Linked DNA regions of Homo sapiens: regions 1, 3, 4, 5 and 6 are each linked to region 2. Evidence: promoter capture Hi-C in human tissues and cell types (Jung and others, 2019). All regions are on one chromosome and are shown on one strand. The core of a region is centred on a gene start or on the middle of the fragment in contact, and the rest is flanking DNA. Distances in the headings are between cores, read along the strand shown.

Region 1 (4,463 bases), core at 1,214-3,713, 130 kb before region 2:
GTCAGGAGTTCAAGACCAGCCTGACCAATATGGTGAAACCCCGCCCCTACTAAAAATACCAAAATTAACTGGGTGTGGTGGCAGAAGCCTGTAATTCTAGATACTCAGGAGGCTGAGGCAGGAGAATCTCTTGAATCCGGGAGGCAGAGGTTGCAGTGAGCTGAGATTGCGCCACTGCACTCCAGCCTGGGTGACAGAGTGAGACTCTGTCTCTCAAAAAAAAAAGAATAATTAAATTTTGCCATATGCAGCAACAGGGAAAACCCTGGAGGATATTACACTGAGTGAAATAAGCCAATCTTAGAAGGGGAAATGCTGCACGGCCTCATTTATATGAGGTATCTAATTTTTTTTTTTCGAGACAGAGTTTTGCTCTTGTCACCCAGGTTGGAGTGCAATGGCGCGATCTCAGCTCATTGCAACCTCCACCTCCCGGGTTCAAGCGATTCTCCTGCCTCAGCCTCCTGAGTAGCTGGTATTACAAGTGCCTGCCACCACACCTGGCTAATTTTTGTATTTTTAGTAGAGACACAGTTTCACCATGTTGGCCAAGCTGGTCTCGAACTCCTGACCTCAGGTGATCCGCCTGCCTCGACCTCCCAAAGTGCTGGGATTACAGGCATGAGCCACCACGTCCGGCCTATAGGAGGTGTCTAATATACTCAACCGAGCAGAAATGGAGTAGAATGCTGGTTGCCAGGGGTAGGGAGAGAAGGAAATGGGGAGTCACTGCTCAAGGGCTATGAAGCTTTAGGTTTGCAAAATGAACAAGTTCTAGAGATGTGCTGTACAACACTGTGCTTACAGCTGACAACACTGTATTATGTACTTAAAATTTTATTCAGAGGGTATATCACACATTAAACGTTCTTATTAACATGAAAAAGGGATAGAAAATACCATGAAACCACTTACAGAAAGCAAGTATGGCAATCCTCTGTCCTTTGTCTTGGGAGAAAGTTTTGGCCAAGAGACAATTTAGGCAAAAAAGAGAATTTACTGAAGAAAAACAGAGAGCAAATAGTTTATTTAGAGAGACAGTGTACTCTGGAAGATAAGGCAGAGCGGGCTGCTGATAGAGAATGAGCCAGCGGCCCGAGAAATGTGCACTGAGTTTTTATGATATTGCACTTTTTCTTGGAGTTCCCACCTCTGTTTTAAGTCTCCACCTTTTTTTCTTTCTCTAGTTTTTCTGCTTCAGCCTTAAGTCCCTGCCTTTTCCCCACATAGTTTCCAGCCCAGGCTGTGGGACCCTCCCTTAACACACACATGGGCCCAGTGTTTGATAGGAATTCTACCTAATGGCTGCATTGCTCATTACTGCCACCCCAGGAAGGTTGTATGGTGGTCAAATCTATACTTACTGTACCTGCATCTCTCTTAGAAATTTCTCCTTTGCTCTCACCCCTATTATCAGCATGCAGCTAGCTACATTCTGACAGGTTAACTTCAGAGTGAGTGAATACTGGGTGTCTTAAGGGGCTTTGTTCTGGCATAGGTATTTACCCTAATCTCTGTTCGTATCTAGCATGTGTGCTTTGGGTGGTCTCTGGGGTGTGAGATTTTCCAGAACTCCCTTTTCTCAGGGGCTGCCCCTCCTGCTTCTGTCTAGCTATCTGCCTACTCTAAAGTTAGTATTAGTATGAAAGCTTTTATGAAAAACATTTTTTTCCAAGAAAAGGGAGGCATTTTATACTGGTGAAATAAGGTGTTCAATGACAACACATAACAACTGTAAATTGTATGCACCTAATAAAATAGCTTTAAAGTATTTGAAGCAAAACTGTCTCTTTTAGCAGAATTAAAAAGAGAAATAATCAATCCATAATCATATACACAGATATTAATACAACTCTCTTATTAACTGAGTGAATGACATGGAGAAAAAAGAGTATACATACAAATACGTGAAAACCATGATTAACAAAATCAATCCAGTGACACCAGGAACCCAAGCCTGAAGGGTAGTTGCTTGAGTATGCATTCATGGATGAACGCATCCAATGAATCATCACAGGAACAAACAATTGAGGCCTTCGTTTATGTATTTCTAACTGATGTTAAGTTTTTCCTTCCTATTCTGTGAGTAGAGGTGGATCCCTGTGGAAGGAGCTGCCCGGGTCTTTGCTCCAGAAGCTGTCTGCATTCTCCCCTCACTGTAGCCTCGTCACATTAGGCCATTGTTATATTTCCCATATGTCCTTCTTCTAGTAATCCAGGAGCCCTCAATGAAAAGGCTGTTTATTAATACCAGTAGCTCAGGACAGAGCAGGGGCATGGCTCATGGATGGTTTGGACCAGGCCCTTAGATGACTGCACTCACATGATTCCCACTGAGACTGCAGTCTGGCCAGTGAGCAGCAGGGGCACTGTGGGTCTGTCTCACGGTCTGCACAGTGGCTATTCATAGCTGTGCCAACCCCTAAACTCCCCAGGGCTGGGCAGTGGAGCCTGCACTCACTGAAGCCGACTCAGCTGCTGCATCTTCTCTGGGTGTGGTTCCAGCACCCACTTCCTCCCAGGTCCTGCCAGACTCTCTCATCCACCAGTCCCCAGGTCTTGAATAAATGCATAGAGTGGGGTGGGGGCAGGCAGTGGGTGGGACACATTTGCATCCATAACCCTTCCTCTGTGAGGCCAGTGGAGGGGATAAGAGAGGCCTAGGGCAGCCACTCCAGCTCTGGACCTCGGGAGGGCTGTGTCCACCATGGCCGGGGCCCCTGCTCCTCCCTGCTGCTCCCCTCTCACTTATCAGGTAGGGACAGGCCTCAGATTCCTGGGAAAGCCTCCCAGTCTGAGTTCTTGCCCCGTGTTCCACTCTCACATTTCATCCCTGCTTACTCACCCATGAGCATTTGTGTTTGCAGGTTCCCCCCACCTCGGCCTGTTCTGACTCAGCCACCCTCCCTCTCTGCATCTCTGGGAAATTCTGAGGCTCACATTTACCCTGAGCTGTGGCTTCACTGCTGGTGGCTAGCACATATCCTGCTACCAGTAGCATCTAGGGAGTGCTCTCTAGTATCTCCTGAGAGATGATATATCTCCAGTGGGATAGATATCTCAAGAGTGGGCTCCTGATAAAAGGATAAAGTTCAACCCTATTTACTCATTTTCACACTCTTCTTTGCCCTTTTTCCCTGAGATAATGCAGCAGAAAGACCCTTGCCAGATTTCAGCATCTGCTTGTGGACTTCTAAGGTCACAGAAATCTCAACCAAATAAACTTTTAGTCTCAGTAAGTTACCCAATATATGGTATTCTATTGTATCAGAAGAAAATGGAGAAAATGGACTAGGACAGCACGTGTAGAACAGTCTGCTAATCTGACTCAAGTAAGCACCATGGCTCCAGGGTCCCCGGTCACTTTTCTAAATCTAAAGATGCCTCAGCCAATGCAGTAATTCTGCACATCTCTGGGCTGCAGCCAGAGGATGAGGCTACTACATATCTCAGCAGCCATGGCACTTCCACAGTGCTCCAGAACCCCAGGGAAGTGAGACTAGGACCTCCCCTGTGTTCTCTCTGCCTGGTGCAATCACCACTGTCCTGCCTGGGACCAACTCTGGCTCAGGGATTGATTCCTGTTGTTACTTTTTCAGCCAGTGTCTAATTTTCCTAGGATATATAGATGTAAAATGTGTTTTTTTCTTAAAATGTTAATTTGATATATTTTTCATATCTTTTCCCCTTATGATGCCTACAGTGGAGTAGGTCAGTTCTTAGAGCTAAGTTTCCCTCCAGGAAGATTACAGAAGAGGAAGGAGATGAATAACCTACACGTGCTGTCCTAGTCCATTTCCCCCATTTTCTTCTGATATAATAGAATATCATATGTTGGGTAACTTACTGAGACTAAAAGTTTATTTGGTTGAGATTTCCGTGGCCTTAGAAGTCCACAAGCAGATGCTGAAATTTGGCAAGGGTCTTTCTGCTGCATTATCTCAGGGAAAAAGGGCAAAGAAGAGTGTGAAAATGAGTAAATAGGGTTGAACTTTATCCTTTTATCAGGAGCCCACTCTTGAGATATCTATCCCATTGCCAGGATAAGGGCACTAATCCATTCATGATGGTGGAACCCTCATGACCTAATCACCTCTTAAAGGTCCTGCCTCCAATTACTTTTACCATGATAATTAAATTCTACCATGAGTTTTGGAGGGGATATTCAAACCATACACATGTCCAAACTAGGGCCTAGACCTGACTTAGAGATGTGTGTGGTCTGAGAACTTCTGATCAGCTGGTTGGTCCAGCATGCCCCAACCCCAGCTCCACTGACCAGCTCCAGGAGTGAGTGAGGTCACCTTCCTCACAACTGCTCATTCCAGCCTGTCTCTGAACTGTTCACTCCTCTTGAGGTTCAGAGGATGCAGGTCTTTGTGGTTCCAGGGATGTTGGGCAAACAGTCTTTTCCACAGTGGAATATGACTGTGCTTGTGACTTCGCAGTGTGCAGAGGACACT
Region 2 (5,013 bases), core at 2,294-4,793:
GATCCTGGCTAACACAGTGAAACCCCGTCTCTACTAAAAATACAAAAAAAAATTAGCAGGGTGTGGTGGCGGGCGCCTGTAGTCCCAGCTACTCGGGAGGCTGAAGCAGGAGAATGGCGTGAACTTGGGAGGTGGAGCTTGCAGTGAGCTGAGATTGCGCCACTGCACTCCAGCCTCGGTGACAGAGCAAGACTCTGTCTCAAAAAACGAACAAACAAAAAAACAAAACAAAACAAAACAAAAACCTAAACCAAAACCAAAACGCAGCATAGTCCATGAGAGAGGAAGAGCAGGGCAGGCCTACTCACCTGGGGCTGTCGGGGAGGCTGCCCAGGAAGGGACTCTGAAGTGAGCACCTGGAGGAAGGAGGTTAGTTCTGAGGGACTGGAATTCATCCTGGCATTGGGATCACGGGCAAAGGTCCTGTGGTGACAAGGAGACTGGTGCGAGCCTGGCTTAGCACCATGTGAGAGCAGAGGGGTGGAAAGGCACTAGGTAAGCATGCCTTCGGATGTGAAATGAGGGAGACGGGGACTGGGGGACCCTGACATGAGGGAGGAGGAAAGGAGATGGGACGAATGGGTGACCAGAGGGACCACTAGACCACCGAGGGTGAGAGCTTGCTAATATCAGAGCCATGTGTAGGAGAATGAAGTGCAATCTTGGATAGACCTCCAGTGCAGGTGGTCCAGCCATCAATGACCATAACCACATGCATGATTGTAGGTGGAACCAGAAGAACCACCCAGGCAACTCACAGAACTGGGGAACTAATCAAGTCTTGTTTTAAATGACTACATTACGGGTGGTTTGCCACGTAGCAGTGGATCGCTGAAACAGTTTAAAATATCTATTCAGCCGGGCGTGCGGTGGGTAGCTCACACCTGTAATCCCAGCATTTTAGGAAGCTGAGGCAGGAGGATCTCTCGAACGCAGGAATTTGAGACCAGCCTTGAGCAAAATGGCAAGACCCTGTCTCCACAAAAAGTAAAAAAAATTAGCTGGGTGTGGTAGCATGTGCTTGTAGTCCCAGCTACTTGGGAGGCTGGGACAGGAGAATTGTTTGAGCCCAGGAGTTCGAGGCTGCAGTGAGCTGTGACTGCACCGCTACACTCCAGCCTGGACAACAGAGTGAAACCTTGTCTCTAAAAAAAAAAAAAAATCTACAAACCAGGCAGGAGCACTGAATAGCTCCTGTCTCCCCTGAGACCCTTGTAGACCTTGAGGTCTGTTACAGAGCTCACCAACCTTCTCTTGGTCTAGAATTATCTAAAAAGAGTTGAGTGCAGCCAGAAAGGACTGAATACATGGTGTTCTTCAATCCCATCAAACTGCTGTGCCCTGCAGATGATCCCTGAGTCCAGGTGTTGGTGGGTTGAGGACAAGGCTGAGGGAACAGAGGTGGGAAGAGTGGCCCAGGGCCAGGAGAATGCAGAGTTCAGAGTGCATGACCTGCATCTAACTCTAGATGCTCCAGGGGTCTGAGACCATCTCCAGCAGGGTCTGGAAGGCCCAGTCATTCCCCAGCACGCACAGTCACCACTGGATACTATCTTGCTCTGTGAGTGATGCAAAGGTCCTGGGTCAGTGAAGCCTGTGAAAGAAAGTTGGGACCAGAGTGTCTCTACGGTTGAGGGCTGGGCTTATTTGCTCTCTAAGTATAATTGTAAGAGCAAGTAGAAACACCTATCCTCTCTGAGCTTAAAAGGATCAAAAAGCTCTGACAGTGTCAGTGGTAGGGCTAGTTCAGGGACTGCAGTAGTGCTGGTGCCCACAGGTGGAACCTTCTCCTGCCCTGATTCCCAAGGACTGGTGCTCTCGGAGGGGTCTGGGAGGTATATTTCTCTTTCACAAATACGTGCACAACACATGAATGAGCTACTGGATGAGGGAATAAATGAATGAATGAGTGAAAAAAGCTTCCTTTCTCCTCTCCAGGAGTCAGCAGTCACTGGTTAGTTCCCCACTGCCCACCAGCCTGTGCAGAGGAGGGAGGAGCAACAGGTCATAGATGTGGTTGCAGCTGTTACTGGACAGAGTGGTCAAGACATCCTGTGTCTGCAGAGGCCCTCCCCAGCCCTCACCTGGGCAGTGGAGCTGTTGGCCAGAGAGGCAGTGGGAAGAAGGGTGGGGCTCCCAGAGTCGACCCTGCGGGCTGAAACTGGTGCAGCCTGCACCTCACCAGGCAGAGAATGGATGTGGGGCAGCTTGACACCGAGCAGGGGCTCATCTGAGCCTCAGGGGTGGTTGCTCTATCAAAGTGTTTGCAAGTAAACAGTCCCAGTGCACACCCAGCTGCTCAGTGCCACCTCGTGCACCCAGGGACACTTCAGCCTTGATCACAGGCCTGCACAGGTTCCAGGGGAGGAGACACTCCAGCTTTTTGAGGGAGGGTGAGCATGTGGGATCAGAGACTTTAAGTCCAAATTTCCCCTTAATTTTTTTTTAAATCTTGCAGGTAGTATGCAAACATACATTTAATGTATTATTTTTATTCTCATTTTTTTTTTGAGGCAGGGTCTCCCTCTGTTGGCCAGGCTGGAGGGCAGTGGTGAGATCTTGGCTTGCTGCAGCCTCAACTCAACCTCCCAAGCTCAAGTGATTTTCCCACCTCAGCCTCCCAAGTAGTTGGGACTGCAGGTGCCTGTCCGCCATGACCAGCTAATTTTTAAATTTTTTTTGTAGAGATGGGGTTTTGCCATGTTGCTCAGGCTAGACTCGAACTCCTGAGCTCAAGTGATCCTCCCACCTTGGCCTCCCAAAGTGCTGGGATTATAGGTGTGAGACACTGCATCCGGCTCCCAAATTTCCCCTTTTTATAAGGACACCAGTTGTACTGACCGGGGCCCCACCTCTATGACCTCATCTAACCTTCATTAACTCCTTAAAGGCCCTATCTCCAAATACAGGCACACTGGGGGTTAGGGCTTCAACCTATGGATTTGGGGGATGCAATTCAGTCTATCACAGTGCCAAGCTGCACCTGCTCGGTGAGCCAGAACAGGGGTGGGGAAGGCACCAGGCCCTGGTGCTTCTTTCCCATGCCTGAGTCACTCTACTTGGTTCTAGTAGGGAGAGGAGCATGGGCCGAAGGCAGTGCTGCAACATGGAAGGGGCAGAACATCCCAACCCGCTCTGGGCCCCCAGTGTCTTCTGCTGTACAAAGCAGGTGTTTTCACCCCCCGAGGATGTGTCCTCCCTTCCTGGCTCACCAAGCATTTAAATGTAGACAGAAAATTTATTTATCTGGGGTGCGGTTTCCTCAGGGGGAAGTTGAGGTCACGACCCCTGAGGTACCTTAACCCAAAGGCCTCCAGGGCACTGGCCCCAGAGTCTCCAGCAGGTGCTTCCTCCCTGAATGCTTCCATATGGCAAGATCAGAGCCACAAATGCTGCCCCGACGCTGTTCCGGTAACCGACGTTGCAGACCCAAGAAAGTCTGGGATGGTAGTGGCCAGGAACGGGGTGTGCCACGGCCCCACCTCTCAGAGCAGGGAGGAGGATGCTGGGCCAGCCCTTGGGGACCCCAGGCACCGTGGCCACAGGAGTCAGAGCTCTGCATGTCTGCACCATGTCCTGGGCTCCTGTCCTGCTCATGCTGTTTGTCTACTGCACAGGTGAGGGAACCCCCAGATCCCAAAGACTCCTGCCCCTTCCTTCATCCTGCCCTGCCCCCACGGCCCACATGCATCTGTGTCACCAGGTTGTGGTCCTCAGCCGGTGCTGCATCAGCCGCCGGCCATGTCCTCGGCCCTTGGAACCACAATCCGCCTCACCTGCACCCTGAGGAACGACCATGACATCGGTGTGTACAGCGTCTACTGGTACCAGCAGAGGCCGGGCCACCCTCCCAGGTTCCTGCTGAGATATTTCTCACAATCAGACAAGAGCCAGGGCCCCCAGGTCCCCCCTCGCTTCTCTGGATCCAAAGATGTGGCCAGGAACAGGGGGTATTTGAGCATCTCTGAGCTGCAGCCTGAGGACGAGGCTATGTATTACTGTGCTATGGGGGCCCGCAGCTCGGAGAAGGAGGAGAGGGAGAGGGAGTGGGAGGAAGAAATGGAACCCACTGCAGCCAGGACACGTGTCCCTTGAACTGAAGACAGCAGAGGCACGCATCCCCTTGGAGAGACTGTCATGGAAGAGGGTGGAGTCGCCGCCCGAAGCGCCGAGGAGGCTGAGCCACTCAGCATCTCCTGGTCCTGCAGTGTTGCTGTAAATCCCCATTGGAGACTGCATTAGGGAATTAAAGCTGCTTGTCACTTTTTGCTGAGTTTGGTCTGACTGTTGTGCGACTTCGTAGTACCAGCCTTGGGCAAAGGCCCGGGGCCCCGGGAGACTGGCAGATCACTGTGGTGAGCACTCACCTGAGTCCTTACTTTTGTGGGCCATGGGAGGCAAGGGGTTGACCGAAGCACCCTGGAGGGGCATCCATGCCCAGGACAGGACCCTCTGGTGTCATCTGATTCTGCCCAGCGGTTACAGGGCAAACAAGCTTAGAAAGCACCTGGTCTGGGCCTCCAGGGAGAACAGGAGCCAGGTAATAGGCCTAGAGTGGGTTCTCCACCTTGGTCCTATCGACGTTTTGGGCTGGACAGTTCTTGGTTGTGGGGCTGTCCTGCGGATTGTTGAATGGTGAGTGGTTATCTGTGGCCTCTACCCACCAGATGCCCCTTCCCAGTTGTGACAAACAAAAATGTCTCCAGACATTGCCAAATGTCCCCAGGTGGTAAACTCACACTGATTGTGAACCACTGGTCTAGATGAGCAAGTAAATGCATTTACTTATTTGTACAAGAGAGTGGCAGGTGTCGGCAAACATGTTCTTTTTTTCCTTTTTTTAGGGATAAAGTCTTGCTCTGTGGTCCAGGCTGGAGTGCAGTGGTGCAATCATAGCTCACCGCAGCTTCAAACTCCCAGGCTCAAGTGATTGTCCTGTCTCAGCCTCCTGAGCAGCTGAGACTACAGGCGTGCATCACCATGCTTGGCTATTTATTTAGTTTTATTTTTGGA
Region 3 (4,330 bases), core at 1,780-4,279, 250 kb before region 2:
TGCTCAAAACTCTAGTGGCTTCATTTTCACTGTGAATACAACCCACCCTGCAGCTGCCCTCAGAGTCTAGCATCCGGGCATCTCAGGGCCCACCTCCTGTCACTCCCCTCACTATTCACTCTGCACCAGCAACCTACACTGGACTCCATTTCTCTCCTCAAACACCAGCAACGCCCTGCTTCAGGGCCTTTGCACTTCCTGTTCCCTCTGCCTAGAAGTGTCTTCTCCCAAATATCCTCATGGCTGGCCCCCTTACTTCATTCAGGTTTCTGTTAAAATTTCACATGAGAGGCCTTCCCTGACCACCCAAGTAGAATAGCACTCCCATCCCTTAATTACAGCTTTATCTTTCCTAATCTGATTTACAGCACTTCTTATATCACCAGTTTTCTGTTTCTGTCTCTCTTATACACATACACATACGCAGACACACACATGCGTGTGCACATAAATGCACACAGTCGTATATTATCTGTCTCCCCTCTGCTAAATTATAAGCTCCATGAAAAAAGGGGCTGTGTCTGCTTTCATTACTGCTGTAGTCTGAGTGATAAACATAGTTCCTGACATACACCAGACAAGCAGGATATATTTTAAATGCATTTCAAGAGCAAGTTTGCACAATACACGCTTACCACAATCCCACTGATGGAGTTGAGGGTAATGTGGAATGGAGGTTTTTTTTCTATGCTCTCACAGAGCATCAGGTTCAGGTTAGTTATGGATTCTTTCAACTGCCCAAATTCCTCTTTTTTTTCTGCCCAGTGAAATGCGGGAGTGTAGCCCCATCCCATCACTTTCCACGGTCCACCACAGAGCAGGGCTTTGTGCAAGGAGGGGGATGTTCTAGACCTGCACTGTCTAATGTGGGAGCCCCAAGCCACATGTGGCTACTGAGTACTTGAAATGTGGCTAGCATGACTAAAGGACTGAATTTTAAATTAAATTAAATTCTAATTAATTGCAATCTAAATAGCTTCATGTAGCCAGATGCTACACTTCTGGACGGCAGAGTTCTAGGATCTATGCTAGTCAGAGACAAGAAACATTCATTCACAGTCTCACAAGCTATGAAATCTATTTGTATGAGGCCACTACGGCCTTGGCAACAAACTGGGCAAGGACAGAGGACAGTATAAGAAAGGACAATTATTGGCCAATCATACATAGGAAGCTATCTAGCAAAGGCTTAAATACTAGCAAATCAAATCAAACGCCTGGCACACTAAATCTATAAATATCTCTTACAAATAGTGATCAAGAACGATTGAGCAAGAATGGTTAATGTTAGGTTTATTAATTATTAATGTCAATGCATTTGAGAAAATCAAAGAAGAAATAGAAGGCAAGGTTCTGAACCTGATATTTAGTAGTGGTGTTTTATAAACATTGCTTTTTTTTTTTGAGACGGAGTCTTGCCTGTCGCCTAGGCTGGAGTGCAGTGGCACAATCTTGGCTTACTGCAAGCTCCACCTCCTGGGTTCACGCCATTCTCCTGCCTCAGTCTCCCGAGTAGCTGGGACTACAGGTGCCCGCCACCACGCCCGGCTAATTTTTTGTATTTTTAGTAGAGACGGGGTTTCACCATGTTAGCCAGGATGGTCTTGATCTCCTGACCTCGTGATCCACCCGCCTTGGCCTCCCAAAGTGTTGGGATTACAGGCGTGAGCCACCGCGCCCAGCCAACATTGCTTTTAAAGTTAGAAACAAGATGAAGATGGTGTGGCCACCATGAGAGTGTGCCCTGCACCTCCAACTCAGGAAATGCACCTGAACCAAGGGCCCCACCCACTGCCCTTAGGAATCCCTGGCAGCCTTAAGGCCCAAGTCACACCACCACATGCTGCTCACCAACAATGACTGGGGACAGATCAGTTCCTGGGAGACAATGTGACAGACTAGTTCCTGGGAGACATCACTCCTCTGACAACCACCTTTGGCTTCAGGACTCCCTGATAGCTTTGCTAAATCTTCCTGAGTGCACACGTTTCCACCCAACCTTCCCTCCAGTTCTGCTTCACCAAACACAGCGATGTAGGTCAGTGGGGTCTCCATGCCTTCCCGCTCACCCCTCAATGCCCCTCATAGGGGGCTCCCCTAGTAAAAATCCTTGGATGTTTTTCCATCTTGGTATCTGCTTCTAGCAGGACTTTGATGGAGTTTAGGATGTGCCTTCCCAAAATACAGCAACTTGGCATACTGAATATTTTAAGCTGAAGGAATTTGAGAAATGGCATGGGCAGGCAGGATTTTCTGACCTTCCCCTGTAGTAGGTATAAGACCCTCCTGTGAGAGGTACTCCCCCTATACAGGAAGGAAAGGCATATCCTTATTTCCAAAGATGAACGCTTGCCAAGAGGGATCTGAACACACAGGCCCGCTGTTCCGCCATTTTATTACACTTGGCTCATACTCTCATACTTCTTTTGTCTTATCATTATTTCTCCATGACTAATCAAAATTTTTTTCTCTCTCTATATATAAACATATATATATAATATATGTGTGTGTGTGTGTGTGTGAGAGAGAGAGAGAGAGAGAAAGACAGAGAGACAGAGAGAGACAGAGAAAGAAAGAGAGAGGGAAAGAGAGGAGCTGTATCATGGGTATTTTTGTTGATGTCTGAATTAGAAACAAGCATGCACACTATCAACATTGTTTGGGAAAGTTGTAGCCGGTGCAGTAAGACACATAACAATAGGGTTGTCTAGGGCAATAAAAAGAGGCAAACGATTATGTACATAGTGTAGGAAAAAATGGTGTTGCGGCTCAGAATGTCACCCCGAAATACGGAACTTTGAAGGTGTCTCTCTGACTTTTCCCTGCCTTTCTGTGTGAGAGCTAGTCATAAAGGAATTCTTTGACCTTCCTTTCCTGAAAGTAGGCAGTGAGACCTCCACCCCATGTGACAGGTGTCCTGTCCTATTACCAGGAGGAAAGAAATGCTACACAGAGGGGCCAAGAAGAATCTGAATGAACAGGCCTTGCTAAGTTCTCCCCAGCTTATTACCATTAGACCACAGGTTTTTTGTCCAATCATACTTGTACATGACTGTCCATCCTTCATCAAACCTAAGCATACATATATACAGATAGTCAGGTGCAGTGACATGCACCTGTAATCCCAGGTACTTGGGAGGCTGAGGCAGGAGGACTGCTTGAGCCCAGGAATTCAAGGCCGGTCTGGGCAATACAGTAAGATCCCAGTCTCTAAAAAAAATTTTAAATTAAGAACTACAGTTCTCCCTGGGTCTTTGAGTCTTCATTTCTGAAGGTTCCTGTATCACGCAAAACTTTGATACATTTGTTATGGTGTCCTCTTGTTAATCTGCCTTTTTAAAATAGGGGTATCAGCAAAGACCCTTGAGATGGGTGAGGAAAAGCTATGATTTTTTCTCCTCTACAGTGGAAAGCAATGGATCCTCTGTAATGTACCCTTCTGGGTTATCAGATTTGAGTCCTGTTCATTATCTTTGAGCTATTTTTTAACTTTATAAGTTGTAGGTAACTGATAGACATATAAATTCTGTCTGGTCTGGTAATGATTTTCTCCTAACTTCTACCTGTGGAAAATTTTGTCTCCATCTGAAATTCATCTCAACATCCCTTCATGTCATATAAATATGTGCTGTCTTAACTCTTCTTTAACATCTGCCTGGTACTTCATATTATATGAGTAAAATAAATTCTTTAATACATGTTCATTTCTATATCTGTATAAAGTCACAATTCTACTTTTCTGAAAATTATCTTTTAACAATTGGAAGCTAAAAAGGATAAAATAGGAAACAGTTAATATAATTAATAGGAGTATTTCTGCTGATGTGACTGCACAAGAGTGCCCAGTATTTCCAGCAAGAACTGAGCTGTAAATGTATAATGGCAGAAGTAATGTAGATGTATGAAATAAACTATTCACTCACTTTTTTCTGTCATCTAGGGATGACAATAAATGTGAAAACAGTATTAAGAATTAAAAAATTAATGTAATGGAGTAAAATTAATAAATGGAAAGATGTAAATGGATGAGGAGAGCAAATATTGAAAAGATATAAATATTGTTATAGTTAGGACATTTTAAATAATGTCTAATTATGACTTTAATCTAGAAGAAATAACAAAAACAAAACTAAGAGAAGACTATTGAAGAGATACTAATGTGAAATTAATTCAAACTGGCTGGGCGTGGTGGCTCATGCCTGTAATCCAGCACTTTGGGAGGCTGAGGTGGCTGGATCACCTGAGATCAGTTTGAGACCAGTCTGGCCAACATGGTGAAACCCTGTCTCTACTAAATATACAAAAAAGAAAAAATTAGCCATGCATGGTG
Region 4 (4,979 bases), core at 946-3,445, 190 kb before region 2:
GAGTGAGAACATGCGGTGTTTGGTTTTCTGTCCTTGTGACAGTTTGCTTAGAATGATGGCTTCCAGCTTCATCCATGTCACTACAAAGGACATGAACTCATCCTTTTTTATGGCTGCATAGTATTCCATGGTGCATATATGCCACATTTTCTTAATCCAGTCTATCAGTGATGGACATTTGGGTTGGTTCCAAGTCTTTGCTATTGTGAATAGTGCCATAATAAACACACACGTGCATGTGTCTTTATAGTAGCATGATTCATAATCCTTTGGGTACATACCCAGTAATGGGATGGCTGAGTCAAATGGTATTTCTAGTTCTAGATCCTTGAGGAATCACCACACTGTCTTCCACAATGGTTGAACTAGTTTACAGTCCCACCAACAGTGTAAAAGCGTTCCTATTTCTCCACATCCTCTCCAGCATCTGTTGTTTCCTAACTTTTTAATGATCAACATTCTAACTGGTGTGAAATGGTATCTCATTGTGGTTTTGATTTGTATTTATCTGATGACCAGTGATGATGAGCATTTTTTCATGTCTGTTGGCTGCATAAATGTCTTATTTTGAGAAGTGTTTGTTCATATCTTTTACCCACTTTTCAATGGGGTTGTTTGCTTTTTCTTGTAAATTTGTTTAAGTTCTTTGTAGATTCTGGATATTAGCCCTTTGTCAGGTGGGTAGATTGCAAAGATTTTCTCCCATTCTGTAGGTTGCCTGTTCACTCTGATAATAGCTTCTTTTGCTGTGCAGAAGCTCTTTAGTTTAATTAGATCCCACTTGTCAATTTTGGCTTTTGTTGCCATTGCTTTTGGTATTTTAGTCATGAAGTCTTTGCCCATGCCAATGTCCTGAATGGTATTGCCTAGGTTTTCTTCTAGGGTTTTTTATGGTGTTAGGTCTTTTTTTTTTTTTTTTCTTTGAGACAGAGTCTCGCTCTGTAGCCCAGGCTGGAGTACAGTGGCGTGATCTCGGCTCACTGCAAGCTCCGCCTCCCGGGTTCCTGCATTCTCTTGCCTCAGCCTCCCAAGTAGCTGGGACTACAGGCACCTGCCACTGCGCCCGGCTAATTTTTTTTTGTATTTTTAAATAGAGACGTGGTTTCACCGTGTTACCCAGGATGGTCTCGATCTCCTGACCTTGTGATCTGCCCGCCTCGGCCTCCCAAAGTGCTGGGATTACAGGCGTGAGCCACCGTGCCCGGCCATGGTGTTAGGTCTTCATTCAAGTCTTTAATCCATCTTGAGTTAATTTTTGTATACTGTGTAAGGAAGACATCCAGTTTCAGCTTTCTACATATGGCTAGCCAGTTTTCCCAGCACCATTTATTAAAGGGGGAATCCTTTCCTCATTGCTTTTTTTAGTCAGGTTTGTCAAAAATCAGATGATTGTAGATGCGTGGTGTTATTTCTGAGGCCTCTGTTCTGTTCCATTCGTCTATATATATGTTTTGGTACCAGTACCATGCTGTTTTGGTTACTGTAGACTTGTAGTATAGTTTGAAGTCAGGTAGCATGATGCCTCCAGCTTTGTTCTTTTTGCTTAGGATTGTCTTGGCTATGCAGGCTCTTTTTAGGTTCCATATGAACTTTAAAGTAGTTTTTTCCAATTCTGTGAAGAAAGTCAGTGGTAGCTTGATGGGGATAGCATTGAATCTATAAATTACCTTGGGCAGTATGGCCATTTTCATGATATTGGTTATTCTTATCTATGAGCATGGAATGTTCTTCCATTTGTTTGTGTCCCCTTTTATTTCATCGAGCAGTGGTTTGTAGTTCTCCTTGAAGAGGTCCTTCACATTCCTTGTAAGTTGGATTCCTAGGTATTTTATTCTCTTTGTATTAATTGTGAGTGGGAGTTCACTCATGATTTGGCTCTCTGTTAGTCTACTATTGGTGTATAGGAATGCTTGTGATTTTTGCACATTGATTTTGTATCCTGTGACCTTACTGAAGTTGCTAATTAGCTTATGGAGATTTTGGGCTGAGATGATGGGGTTTTCCAAATATACAATCTTGTCATCTGCAAACGGAGACAATTTGACTTCGTCTTTTCCCAGTTGAATACCCTTTATTTCTTTCTCTTGCCTGATTGCTCTAGCCAGAACTTCCAACACTGTGTTGAATAGGAGAGGGCATCCTTGTCTTGTGCTGGTTTTCAAACAGAATGCTTCCAGTTTTTGCCCATTCAGTATGATATTGGCTGTGGGTTTGTCATAAATAGCTCTTATTATTTTGAGATATATTCCATCAATACCTAGTTTATTGAGAGTTTTTAGCATGAAGGGCTGTTGAATTTTGTCGAAGGCCTTTTCTGCATCTATTGAGGTAATCATGTGGTTTTTGTCGCTGGTTCTGTTTATGTGATGGATTACATTTATTGATTTGCATATGTTGAACCAGCCTTGCATCCTAGGGATGAAGCTGACTTGATCGTGGTGGATAACCTTTTTGATGTGCTGTTGGATTTGGTTTGCCAGTATTTTATTGAGGATTTTCGCATCAATGTTCATCAGGGATATTGGCCTAAAATTCTCTTTTTTTGTTGTGTCTCTACCAGGCTTTGGTATCAAGATGATGCTAGCCTCCTAAAATGAGTTAGGGAGGATTCCCTCTTTTTCTATTGATTGAAATAGTTTTAGAAGGAATGGTACCAGCTCCTCTTTGTACCTCTGGTAGAATTCGGCTGTGAGTCTGTCTGGTCCTGGACTTTTTTTGGTTGGTAGGCTATCAATTATTGCCTCAATTTCAGAACCTGTTATTGGTCTATTAAGAGATTCAGCCTCTTCCTGGTTTAGTCTTGGGAGGGTGTATGTGTACAGGAATTTATCCATTTCTTCTAGATTTTCTAGTTTTCTTGTGTAGAGGTTCTTATAGTATTCTGATGGCAGTTTGTATTTCTGTGGGATGGGTGGTGATATCTCCTTTATCATTTTTTGTTGTGTCTATTTGATTCTTCTCTCTTTTCTTCTTTATTAGTGTTGCTAGCGGTTTATCAATTTTGTTGATCTTTTCAAAAAACCAGCTCCTGGATTCATTGATTTTTTGAAGGGTTTTTTGTGTCTCTATCTCCTTCAGTTCTGCTCTGATCTTAGTTATGTCTTGCCTTCTACTAGCTTTTGAATGTGTTTGCTCTTGCTTCTCTAATTCTTTTAATTGTGATGTTAGGGTGTCGATTTGAGATCTTTCCTGCTTTCTCTTGTTGGCATTTAGTGCTATAAATTTCCCTCTACACACTGCTTTAAACGTGTCCCAGAGATTCTAGTACGTTGTGTCTTTGTTCTCATTGGTTTCAAATAACGTCTTTATTTCTGCCTTCATTTCGTTATGTACCCAGTAGTCATTCAGGAGCAGGTTTTTCAGTTTCCATTAGTTGAGTGGTTTTGAGTGAGTTTCTTAATCCTGAGTTCTAGTTTGATTGCACTGTGGTCCGAGAGACAGTTTTTTGTGATTTCTTTTCTTTTACATTTGCTGAGGAGTGTTTTACTACCAATTATGTGGTCAATTTTAGAATAAGTGCGATGTGGTGCTGAGAAGAATGCATATTCTGTTGATTTGGGGTGTAGAGTTCTGTAGGTGTCTATTAGGTCTGCATGGTCCAGAGCTGAGCTCAAGTCCTGGATATCCTTGTTAACCTTCTGTCTCATTGATCTGTCTAACATTGACAGTAGGATGTTAAAGCCTTCCATTATTATTGTGTGGGAGTCTAAGTCTCTTTGTAGGTCTCTAAGGACTTGCTTTATGAATCTGGGTGCTCCTGTATTGGGTGCATATATATTTAGGATAGTTAGCTCTTCTTGTTGAATTGATCCCTTTACTATTATGTAGTGGCTTTCTTTGTCTCTTTTGATCTTTGTTGGTTTAAAGTCTGTTTTATCAAAGACTAGGATTGCAACCCCTGCTTTTTTTTTGCTTTCCATTTGCTTGGTAGATCTTCCTCCATCCCTTTATTTTGAGCCTATGTGTGTCTTTGCACATGAGATGGGTCTCCTGGATACAGCACACTGATGGGTCTTGACTCTTTATCCAATTTGCCAGTCTGTGTCTTTTAATTGGGGCATTTGGCCCATTTACATTTAAGGTTAATATTGTTGGGTTTGAATTTCATCCTGTCATTATGATGTTAGCTGGTTATTTTGCCTGTTAATGATGCAGTTTCTTCATAGCTTCAATGATCTTTACCATTTGGCATGTTTTTGCAGTGGCTGGAACCTGTTGTTCCTTTCCATGTTTAGTACTTCCTTCAGGAGCTCTTGTAAGGCAGGCCTAGTGGTAACAAAATCTCTCAGCATTTGCTTGTCTGTAAAATATTTTATTTCTCCTTCACTTATTAAGCTTAGTTTGGCTGGATATGAGATTCTGGTTTGAAAATTCTTTTCTTTAAGAATATTGAATATTGGCCCCCACTCTCTTCTGGCTTGTATGGTTTCTGCTGAGAGATCCACTGTTAGTCTGATGGGCTTCCATTTGTAGGTAACCTGACCTTTCTCTCTGGGTGCTTTTAACATTTTTTCCTTGATTTCAACCTTGGTGAATCTGACAATTATGTGTCTTGGGATTGCTCTTCTTGGGGAGTATCTTTGTGGTGCTCTCTGTATTTCCTGAATATGAATGTTGGCCTGCCTTGCTAGGTTGAGTAAGTTCTCCTGGATAATATCCTGAAGAGGGTTTTTTTTTTTTGGTTTTTTTTGAGACAGAGTCTCCCACTGTCACCCAGGTTGGAGTGCAGTGGTGCGATCTTGGCTCACTGCAAACTCTGCCTCCTGGGTTCCCACCATTCTCCTGCCTCAGCCTCCCGAGTAGCTGGGACTACAGGCACCCACCACCATTCCCGGCTAATTTTTCATATTTTTTGGTAAAGACAGGGTTTCATCATGTTAGCCAGGAGGGTCTTGATCTCCTGACCTCATGGTCTGCCCACCTCGGCCTTCCAAAGATCTGGGATTAGGAGGCATGAGCCACCGCACCTGGCCCTGAAG
Region 5 (4,779 bases), core at 1,942-4,441, 220 kb before region 2:
CTCCTCCTCAGGCTGCAGTGTGAGCTGAGCTCCAGCTCCAGGGCTCAGGGAGGGGCTGGGCAGTCCCCTGATGGAAACACACTTGCATGAGCAGCCCCTCCTCTGCAGAGGGTGGGGAAGAAAAGGATGCCTGGGGCAGTCCAGCCCCACGGTGTGGTGGGGTCAGGGGCTGTGTCCACCATGGACTTGACTCCTCCCCTCCTTGTGATCCTGTCTCACTGTACGTGTCGGGACGGGCCTCAAAGACCAGCCTACATCAGAAACTTTGACTGAGGCCCCTGAGAAATGTTACCCTGAACTCTGCCTTAGTATCTGGATGTGTCTTTTCACCTGATAGAGTTATAAAGATTTTCCCAGTTAAAAACAAAAGCAAAGCTCTGCCAGACTCGTGTTCGTGGCTCCAAATCTGCTTCAGCCACTGAGCAGGAGCTGAGAGGGAAGAGAGAGAGAAGAACACAAGATCCATATGGGGAAGGATTTCTATGAGGGTGTGGCAGTGAGAGCGGGTGGCAAGTTGCCAAAGAGGCCTAAGCCACAGAAGTGGGTTTCATGTGGGACTTTCGGAATGAGCAGGAGGGCGATGGGTGGAGGGTGAGGGTCAGAAGATTCTAATCAGAGGTGAGAACCCAAAGATGAGTTATTGGTCATTCAAGTCAAACAGTGAAATTACCTTGGCCTGTGCCTCCAGTCAGTGGAGCAGGGAAGGGGCCAGGATGTGCTTCCTGCAGGTGTTACTGGAAAGGGGTCCTGATTCAGATCCCAAGAGAGGGTTCTTGGATCTCATGCAAGAAATAATTTGGGAGGAGTCTATAAAGTGGAAACAAGTTTATTAAGACAGTAAATGAATAAAGGAATGGCTACTCCATAGACAGGGCAGCACCAAACACTGCTGGTCGGCTATTTGTATAGATAGTCCTTGATCATATGCTAAATAAGGAGTGGATTATTTATTAGCTTTTCAGGAATTCTTTTTAAAAATATAGACCACATAAGGTAACTTGTGGATGTTGCCATAGCATTTCTAACTGTGAGGACAACCAGAGGTCACTTTCCTCACCGTCTTGGTTTCAGTAGGTTTTGGCCGGCTTCTTTAGCGTATCCTGTCTTATCAGCAGGGTCTTTATGACCTGTATCTTGTGATCCCAGTCTGGTTGACTTCCTAGCTCATCCTGTGACTAAGAATGCCTAACCTCCTGGAAATGCAGGCCAGCATGCCTAAGCCTCATTTAATCAAGCCCCTATTCAACATGGAGTCACTCTGGTTCTAACACCTCTGACTTAGGGTGGCTGCAGAGCTGGAGGTGCAGATTGGGGCAGATCAGCCTCCTGAGAAAAGCACACAGAGCCACTGCGGGGCTGTGAGGTGGGAGAGATGAACTCACATTGGCATTTGATCAGTGACTCTCCAGCTGTAATGAGAATAGAATGGAGAGGCCTGGGACAGGAAGACAGGATGTGGTTGCTCATGCCATCCTGGTGGGAAGATCTAGGTGAGTTACTGTGGGGTAAAGAGGAGAGAGCAGATTCCTTGTCACTTTATGCTGTAGAATACATTGGACATGGAGAGGGCTTGGAGCTTGTGTGTGAGAAAAGCAGATCTATCTCGGCTGACTCCCAACAAACTGGCTGAGAATTTAGATGGAGGATTATTATTAAATAAAAGAGGAAGACTGAAATGAATATTGTCATCGTATTTTTTTACCCAGGGTTGGGATAGGTGGAAATGTGTGTGTGTGTGTGTGTGTGTGTGTGTGTGTTTAAATATTCACTAATTTTTCAATTCAAAAATATTTACTGCGTGACTACTAAGTAATAATATTATACAGGTTTTAGCGTTACCATGGAGAATCAAATTGTCAAGGTCACAGGCATCTTTTTGTTTTGTGTGGATCACTGTGAAAGATACTATGCTAAATTTTTTCTGAATCATGCAGATGAAAGCATTAAACACATACACAAACATTTACGTTTGTGTGTGTGTTGTGTGTGTGTGTGTGTGTATGTGTAATCTATCTCAGCATACAATGCCACTGAAACTACACTTGCGGATTAGGTCCTCGGAAAAATAATCGTGTTAACATTCACGATGCAAATAGAATGGTACCTGACACAAAGTAAGTGCTATAAAAGAATACTTGAGGCTGGGCGCGGTGGCTTATGCCTGTAATCCCAGCACTTTGGGAGGCCGAGGCCGGTGGATCACCTGAGGTCAGGAGTTTGAGACCAGCTTGGGCAACACGGTGAAACCCCGTCTCTACTAAAAATACAAAAATTAGTCAGGTGTGGTGATGGGTGCCTGTAATGCCAGCTACTCGGGAGGCTTAGGCAGGAGAATCGCTTGAACCTGGGAGGCGGAGGTTCAACAAGAGCAAAGCCCATTCTCAAAAACAAAAAATTTGAATGGTTAAATCACATTGGACTGTGAGTAAAGGGCTTAGACAAGGTGTCTCGGAACTTTTGGGTCATCTTCTTGATCTTTCCATAAAACTCTAACCCTTCTATTCTTAACCTCCCCCATTCCCAATTTCACCCTGATGTGCACATCCTACCTGGTGCCTAGTCATCCCGGTGGCCCCTCTCTGGGCTGTATCTAGGGAGAGTGGTGACCTTGGTCATCTTCCTCAGGTCCAAGTATCCATAAGAGAAGCAGACTTTTCTCTCTTTCATAATGATGGTCTCTTCTTGAATAATTTCCCTGTGCATTTTCATTAAGGGTCTCACCCCATCAAGGGTGTGATGAGGACAGTGATGAGGGTCACGGAGCCCGGCCTCCCACGGGGGGATGTGGGGTATGATGAGAGAGAGAAGCAGGTGCCCTCAGGCCCATATGGAGGCTGGGGAGGGTTGTTAACCCTCCTGCCCTCCTGGCCACTGGGTGCAGGACATGTTCTCTCTGAGGCTCACTCACCTATGGCCCCAACCACACAAAAATCTAAATGGGGAAGAAGCAGAGGATGACTTCATGCTGAGGAGGCCCATCTTGCAGCGAGAAATGTGCTGTGGTGAGCACCTGCAGCACAAAGAGCCTGGGGTGGGGGTGGAGGGGCGTGAGCGCTGCCTCTGTGTGGGGATGGTGTGCGCAAGGCAGTGCTGAGGACCTTCAAGCCAGTCAGGAATGAACCTGGGCTCTGAGACAGTGGAGGGAAGTGTGGCCTGTCCCTGAGGGTCTGTGGGGGTTTCAACTGGGAAACCAGGCCCTGGACCCCTACCCTGGGCCCTCTGCTCTGTGCTTTCTGGGGCCCAGCAGCTGGGACCTCCCAGGAGCAGAAGAGGCTCCTCTAGCCCCACCCCACACTCAACTTTCCCCAAGTTCAGGCCCAGGGATAGCAGGGGGAGGGGTGTGATTTGCATGAAGGGTGCTCTGTGCCCTCTTAGGAGGAGAGGATAAGAGAGACTCTGTGCAGTTCTGCTCAGCTGTGGGCTTAGGAAGCAGAGCCTGGGGCATCTCCACCATGGCCTGGACCCCTCTCCTCCTCCAGCTTCTCACCCTCTGCTCAGGTGACTGCCTGTGGAATGCCAAAGTGATTATTGGGGACACATGGGATGACTTTTCTCTTATATTTTAACATTGTGGGGTGGGTAGTGAACCCAGACTCACCTCTCTGTGCCTGCCTCCTCTGTTCCAGGGTCCTGGGCACAGTCTGCGCTGACCCAGGAAGCCTCGGTGTCAGGGACCGTGGGACAGAAGGTCACCCTCTCCTGTACTGGAAACAGCAACAACGTTGGAAGTTATGCTGTGGGCTGGTACCAACAGATTTCTCACGGTGCTCCCAAAACTGTGATGTTTGGAAATTCTCTGCCCTCAGGGATCCCTGACCGCTTCTCTGGCTCAAAGTCTGGGACCACAGCCTCCCTGACTATCTCGGGCCTCTAGCCTGAGGACGAGGCTGATTATTACTGTTCAACATGGGACTACAGCCTCAGTGCTCACACAGTGCTGCAGGCACATGGGGAACCGAGACAAAAACCTGCCCTTGGCCTGTCCCGAGGCTGATCACTCCATACTTGCCTATGACAAACAAAGAGGGTGCCTGTGGCTGATCGTACAGTTTAAGCAAGGGAGGAAGTGAGACTCAGCCACAGGCCCCTGCAAAGGGTCAGCGGGCCTTGTTCCCACATTGTCTCTATTTGAAAAAGTGAGATAAATTTCACTTCGTATAAAATGTACAATTAAATTGTCTTATTGTGTTTACAGAATTATGCATCTATCACCATAATCTAATTTTAAAACGTTTTCATCACCCCACAAAAAAACCCCCACAATTAGCAGCCACCCTTCACCCTTTCTCCCCAGCCACTGGTCATTGCTAAAGACTTTCTGTAAAGAACATGCATTTAAAGACCTAAGAAACTCAGTGATGCCAAACAGCTAGGTTTTTCAAATGCCCAAGCATGTAATAATAGATTACTGAAACCAAAGATAAAGACACAATTATGAAAGCAGACAGAAAGCTTTATAATATATACAGAAAATCAACAATTCAAACAATGAGAGGTATTTTATGAGTATACATTGAGGCCAAATGGCAGTGTTATGTTCTTACAAAGTCAAAAGAAAGAAAGAAAGAACTGTTGAGTCATAATGCTATATCCAGGTAAAGATTTTTTTTTTTTAAAAAAGGTAAAAAATAAGACTTTGTCAGATGAAGAAAACCTGAAAGAATTCATCTAAAAAAAATCAAAACAAATCAACTCTAAGAGAAAATTTTCAGGTGGAAGATAAATGATAATGGAAACATTGAACCCAAAGAATGCAGGAAGAATAACCAATAAATATAG
Region 6 (4,496 bases), core at 1,484-3,983, 150 kb before region 2:
AAATAAAAAGTGAGCGAAAAGAAATAAAGCAAAAAGCCCAAATAAAATAAAGAGAAAGGTAAACTCACACACAATATCAGCAATTATATTCAATGTAAATGTGTTGATGAACCAGATAAAAATAATTTCCTTAAAATAAAGTTACTTGTGTGTTATATTTTAAAGGATGCTAAAAATACACTATGCAAACATTTACCTGCAGAAAGCTCTTGTGGTTATCTCGGTATCAGACCAGATAATTTCAATGAAAATTATTTACATCAGGAAATGTGGGACATTTTATGTATATAAAATGAAATATTTGACAAGAACACATAACAATTATAAAATACACATCAGTCCATGCATGGTGGCTCACGCCTGTAATCCCAGCCCTTTGGGAGGCCAAGGTGGGTGGATTGCTTGAGCTCAGGAGTTCTAGACCAGCCTGGGCAGCATGGCAAAATTTCATCTCTAAAAAGTACAGAAAAAAAAATTAGCCAGGCACGGTGGCATATGTGTCTGTAGTCCCAGATACTTGGGAGCCTGAGGTAGGAGGATCCCTTGAGCCTGAGAGGTGGAGGTTGCAGTGAGCCAAGATAGCGCCACTGCACTCCTGCCAGGGTGACAGAGTGAGATCCCATCTCAAACAACAACAAACAAACAAACGAACAAAACAAACCAAAAAAGCACACACAAATAAACAAACCAAAAAACATGTCCCTAATAATATAATCTATATAAAATATAAATTAGCAGGACTAAGGAAGAGAAAAGAATCAATTCCCAATTATAGTTATAAATAATAGCACACACTTCTATTAACTGAGTGAATCAGCAGAAAAAAAATTGCACATAACAATATGTGAACAACCTGAAAAACCAAATTCACCCACTGACGCCAGGAGCCCAAACCTGAGGAGTAGTTGGCTAATGAATATGTATTACTGAAACGATTGAATAAGTGCTAGAAGAAATAAATGAGGCATTCATTATTTTTACCCGATTTGATGCTTCTCCTCTCTGTCCTGTGAGCAGGGGGCACTCCCATGTCTATTCCTAGTCCCATTCTTATCCCCTCGTCTCTCTCCCCAAGACTGAGCTGCATTCTGCAGGGTGGCTCCCGTCCCCCTGGAGTAAATGACTGACGTGAGGAGCCCTGCCTTCCAGTGCTGCTGTTTTCATCGTGCTCTGGTTTGAATGTCTCCCTTCCAAAAGGATTTATACTTAATTGCCAGTGTGATAGTACTAAGAGGTAGGCCTTCAAAAGGTGATATAGTCTTGAACACGGAGACCTCACGGTTGGGATCAGGTCTCTTATATAAAGGCTGGAGGTAGCGGTGTGCTCTGTCTCTCTTCTTGCCATGTGAGGACACAGAAAAAAGGCACTTATCAGATGACAGTGCCTTGATCCTGAACTTCCCAGCCTCAAAAACTGTGAGAAGGCCAGGTGCGGTGGCTCATGCCTGTAATCCAAGCACTTTGGGAGGCCAAAGCAGGTGAATCCCTTGAGTCCAGGAGTTCGAGACCAGCCTGAGCAACATGGTAAAACCCCATTTCTATAAAAAATACAAAAATTAGCCAGATGCAGTGACAGGCACTTGTAGTCCTACCTAATCAGGAGGCTGAGGTGGGAGGATCACCTGAGCCTGGGAGGTCGAGGCTGCAGTGAGTTGTGATTGTGCCACTGTACTCCAGCCTGGATGACAGAGCGGGAGACTGTCTCAAAAAATTAAAAAATAAATAAATAAAAAATAAAACAGTGGGCGAGATAAAGAAAATGTGTTACTTATATACCACGGAACACTATGCAGCCATAAAAGAAAGTTATGTTCTTGGCAGCAACGTGGATGGAGCTGGAGGCCATTATCATAAGTGAACTAAGCCCCGAACAGAAAACCAAATGCTGCATGATCTCACTTATAAGTGGGAGCTAAACTATGAATATACCCGAACATACAGAAAGGAACAACAGACACTGGGAATGACTACCAGACCAAAAAAAAAAAAAAAAAAAAAGAGGATCCACCCTGTGGATCCTCTGCCCACTGCCTGGGTCATGAGGTTGTTGGGACCCCAAGCCTCCGTGTCATGCAATCAACAGATGTAACTAACCTGCATGTGTACCCTTTAAACTAGAATAGTAAGAGTAAAGAGCATTGAAAGAAAAAGTCAAGATCAGAAGCGAAGAAAATAATAAATGAAAAAACACAATCTATAGTTATCCAAACAATCCATGACTGTCACAAACACAGAACAAGGACCCAGTGGACAGAATGAGGCAGCCAAATACTCAACCCAACATGATACATAGGGAACACATTTTTCAAAACACCAAAAAGACACAATGGGAAAGGGAGAGTCTGGTTCAAGAAGTGATTTTGAGAAAACTGAATATGCACATGCAAAACACTGAAATAAGACCTTTGCATTGCACGATACACAAAATCAACACAAAATAAATTAAAGACCTAAACTCAATCTTGAAACTGCAAAGGTCTTATAAGAAAACATAGGTTGGGTGTATATTTTAGGAAGCCTGTATCTATGCACACAGGCTGCAAAAGGTGAAAAATAATCATAACACTAAAGGGAAAATTAGGGGAACTACATGCACAGACAATGCAATGGCTTGGCTATATATGTGTGTGTGTATGTGTGTGTGTTTTGTAGGGTGGAGGTTTGGATACAAAAATTACAGCTAACATGCAAATATAAACAAAGACACTAGTGACACTTTAGAACTTCTACAGGGGGAAAGAAACAATGAAATAAACAAACAAACAAAATGCATCCTAAAGACTAGGAGAGAATTATGGAAAGTCCTACCTCTGAAAGAGATTGTTATCTAACACCTACAATAAACTCACTCTACTAAATGAAAAACAACAAAAACAACAACAACAAATACCCAAGCTAAGAGGATCTGAATAGACATGTGTGTAAAGAAGACAGGAAATTGACTCACAGGTTAACAGTTTCTCAATATCACTAATCCTCACAAAAAAGTGAATCAAAACCATACTCAGGTACCATATAATTCCAGTTAAAATGAATATTGCAAAAGATAAAAATAAAAATTGTTGGAGGTGATGGCTGGTGTAGAATTGCAGGAAGGAAAACTCTTGTACGCTCTTTGTGGGAATGTAAATTAGTATACACACTATGCAAAACTGTTGGAGGTTCCTTAAAAAAGTAAAAGGTCAAAGTACAACCACCACTCCAGGTTAACAATCCCACCACTGGGTACACATTTAGAGGAAACAAAATCCCTGCATTGAAGAGGTATCTGCCTTCCCATGTGTCCTGAAGCACTAGTCACAATAGTCAAGATATGGAATCAACCTAACTGTCCATCCACAGATGAAGAGATAAAGGAACTGGATATATACATGATGGAAAGCATTTCAGCCATAACAGTTTGGGAAATCATTGATCTGCAGCCATGTGGAGAAACCTGGAAGACAATTAGGGGAAATGAAATGAGCCTGTTAGAGAGAGACCCATACTGCATGACATTAGGCAAATGGAATCCAAAAAACACTGTCTTCTAGAAGCAGAACTTTCAATAGGGGTTACTAGAAGCTGGAGAGAGGAGGGGGCCTGGGCAGGGATTGGTAATGGGTACAGAGTAACACTCAGAGGAGAGGAATCCATTCTGATGTTCTATTCCACAGCAGGGTGACCAGGGTCAACAATGTCTAGGGGAATTTTTCAAAAACAGCTGGAAAGGATGGTTCTGAATGTTCTCTCCACAGGGAAATAATAAGAAGCCAGACACCATGATTTGATCATGACACTACGTATACATATATCAAAATGTCCCTTGCACCCTCTGGTTATATACATACACTCTATAGTAATGAAACTGCCATCAAATGTTGGTAGTATTCATTCTAACTGGAGTGACATAGAATCTGAGTGTGGTTTTCAATCATGTTTTGGTGTGAATCGGCCATGTTGATAATCTTATCTTTTACCTGTGCATCAACCTCATGTCTTCAGGTCCTCTGCCCACTTTTACACATCAAATTCAAAACAAATTAACAATAACATGGCAAATATAACTAATCACACACACACAGAAAATGAAAACCACCACTCAGATTCCATCTCACTCTAGATGGAATGGATACTACAAAAAAAAAGTTGAAAAATATTAAAAGACAAAAAAACGATGGTGTGGATTTCCAGAGGGGGAACTTGTCTCCGCAGTTCGTAGGAACATAAACTAGTACACACACTAAAGAAACCACTTGGAGGTCCCTCCAAACCTTAAAACCACAACTACCATTTCATCCAGCAATCTACTACTAGTCGTATATACAGAGTACATGAAATCAAGCCATGGAAGAGATTATCTGCGTTCCCAGGTGGAATCCAGCACTATGCAGAATGGCCAAGATGAGAAATCAGCCGACCTGTCCATCTGCAGATGAAGGGATAAGGAAACTGTCCCATGCGTAGACACTGGAATACTCTTCAGCCAGAAAAATACAATGAATTCCCATCACGGG

Evidence for each region. Contacts are between HindIII fragments. The study calls those that stand out against the background at their distance.
Region 1: a contact is called between a fragment that was not itself captured here and the fragment with the promoter of VPREB1 in region 2, in 2 of the 25 tissues and cell types used here (dorsolateral prefrontal cortex and mesendoderm cells).
Region 3: a fragment that was not itself captured here is called in contact with the fragment with the promoter of VPREB1 in region 2 in 1 of the 25 tissues and cell types used here (dorsolateral prefrontal cortex).
Region 4: a fragment that was not itself captured here is called in contact with the fragment with the promoter of VPREB1 in region 2 in 1 of the 25 tissues and cell types used here (IMR-90 fibroblasts).
Region 5: a contact is called between a fragment that was not itself captured here and the fragment with the promoter of VPREB1 in region 2, in 1 of the 25 tissues and cell types used here (spleen).
Region 6: a contact is called between a fragment that was not itself captured here and the fragment with the promoter of VPREB1 in region 2, in 3 of the 25 tissues and cell types used here (lymphoblastoid cells, mesendoderm cells and spleen).

What each region holds. Positions count from the first base shown.
Region 1 is chr22:22,108,707-22,113,169 of GRCh38, forward strand. It overlaps IGL. Among named protein-coding and RNA genes, the nearest start is that of TOP3B, 130 kb to the left of the region's middle. RefSeq lists an enhancer at 2,557-2,636 and a silencer at 2,957-3,026. The HindIII fragment of the contact is 8,065 bases long and covers 1-4,463 here.
Region 2 is chr22:22,241,243-22,246,255 of GRCh38, forward strand. It overlaps VPREB1 (V-set pre-B cell surrogate light chain 1), which reads left to right and starts at 3,544. Exons shown (of 2, transcript NM_007128.4): 1 at 3,544-3,617; 2 at 3,704-4,273. The coding sequence starts at 3,572. The coding sequence ends at 4,095. It also overlaps IGL. The HindIII fragment of the contact is 13,267 bases long and covers 68-5,013 here.
Region 3 is chr22:21,995,923-22,000,252 of GRCh38, forward strand. It overlaps the pseudogene PRAMENP. Among named protein-coding and RNA genes, the nearest start is that of TOP3B, 15 kb to the left of the region's middle. The HindIII fragment of the contact is 5,385 bases long and covers 338-4,330 here.
Region 4 is chr22:22,051,196-22,056,174 of GRCh38, forward strand. It overlaps IGL. Among named protein-coding and RNA genes, the nearest start is that of TOP3B, 71 kb to the left of the region's middle. The HindIII fragment of the contact is 5,123 bases long and covers 1-4,757 here.
Region 5 is chr22:22,022,624-22,027,402 of GRCh38, forward strand. It overlaps the pseudogene PRAMENP, IGL and the pseudogene IGLVI-70. Among named protein-coding and RNA genes, the nearest start is that of TOP3B, 42 kb to the left of the region's middle. RefSeq lists an enhancer at 2,701-2,880 and a silencer at 3,981-4,100. The HindIII fragment of the contact is 3,317 bases long and covers 1,534-4,779 here.
Region 6 is chr22:22,090,224-22,094,719 of GRCh38, forward strand. LOC102724653 (a long non-coding RNA gene) reads right to left here. Exons shown (of 3, transcript XR_938059.3): 2 at 4,401-4,496. It also overlaps IGL. Among named protein-coding and RNA genes, the nearest start is that of TOP3B, 110 kb to the left of the region's middle. The HindIII fragment of the contact is 5,829 bases long and covers 1-4,496 here.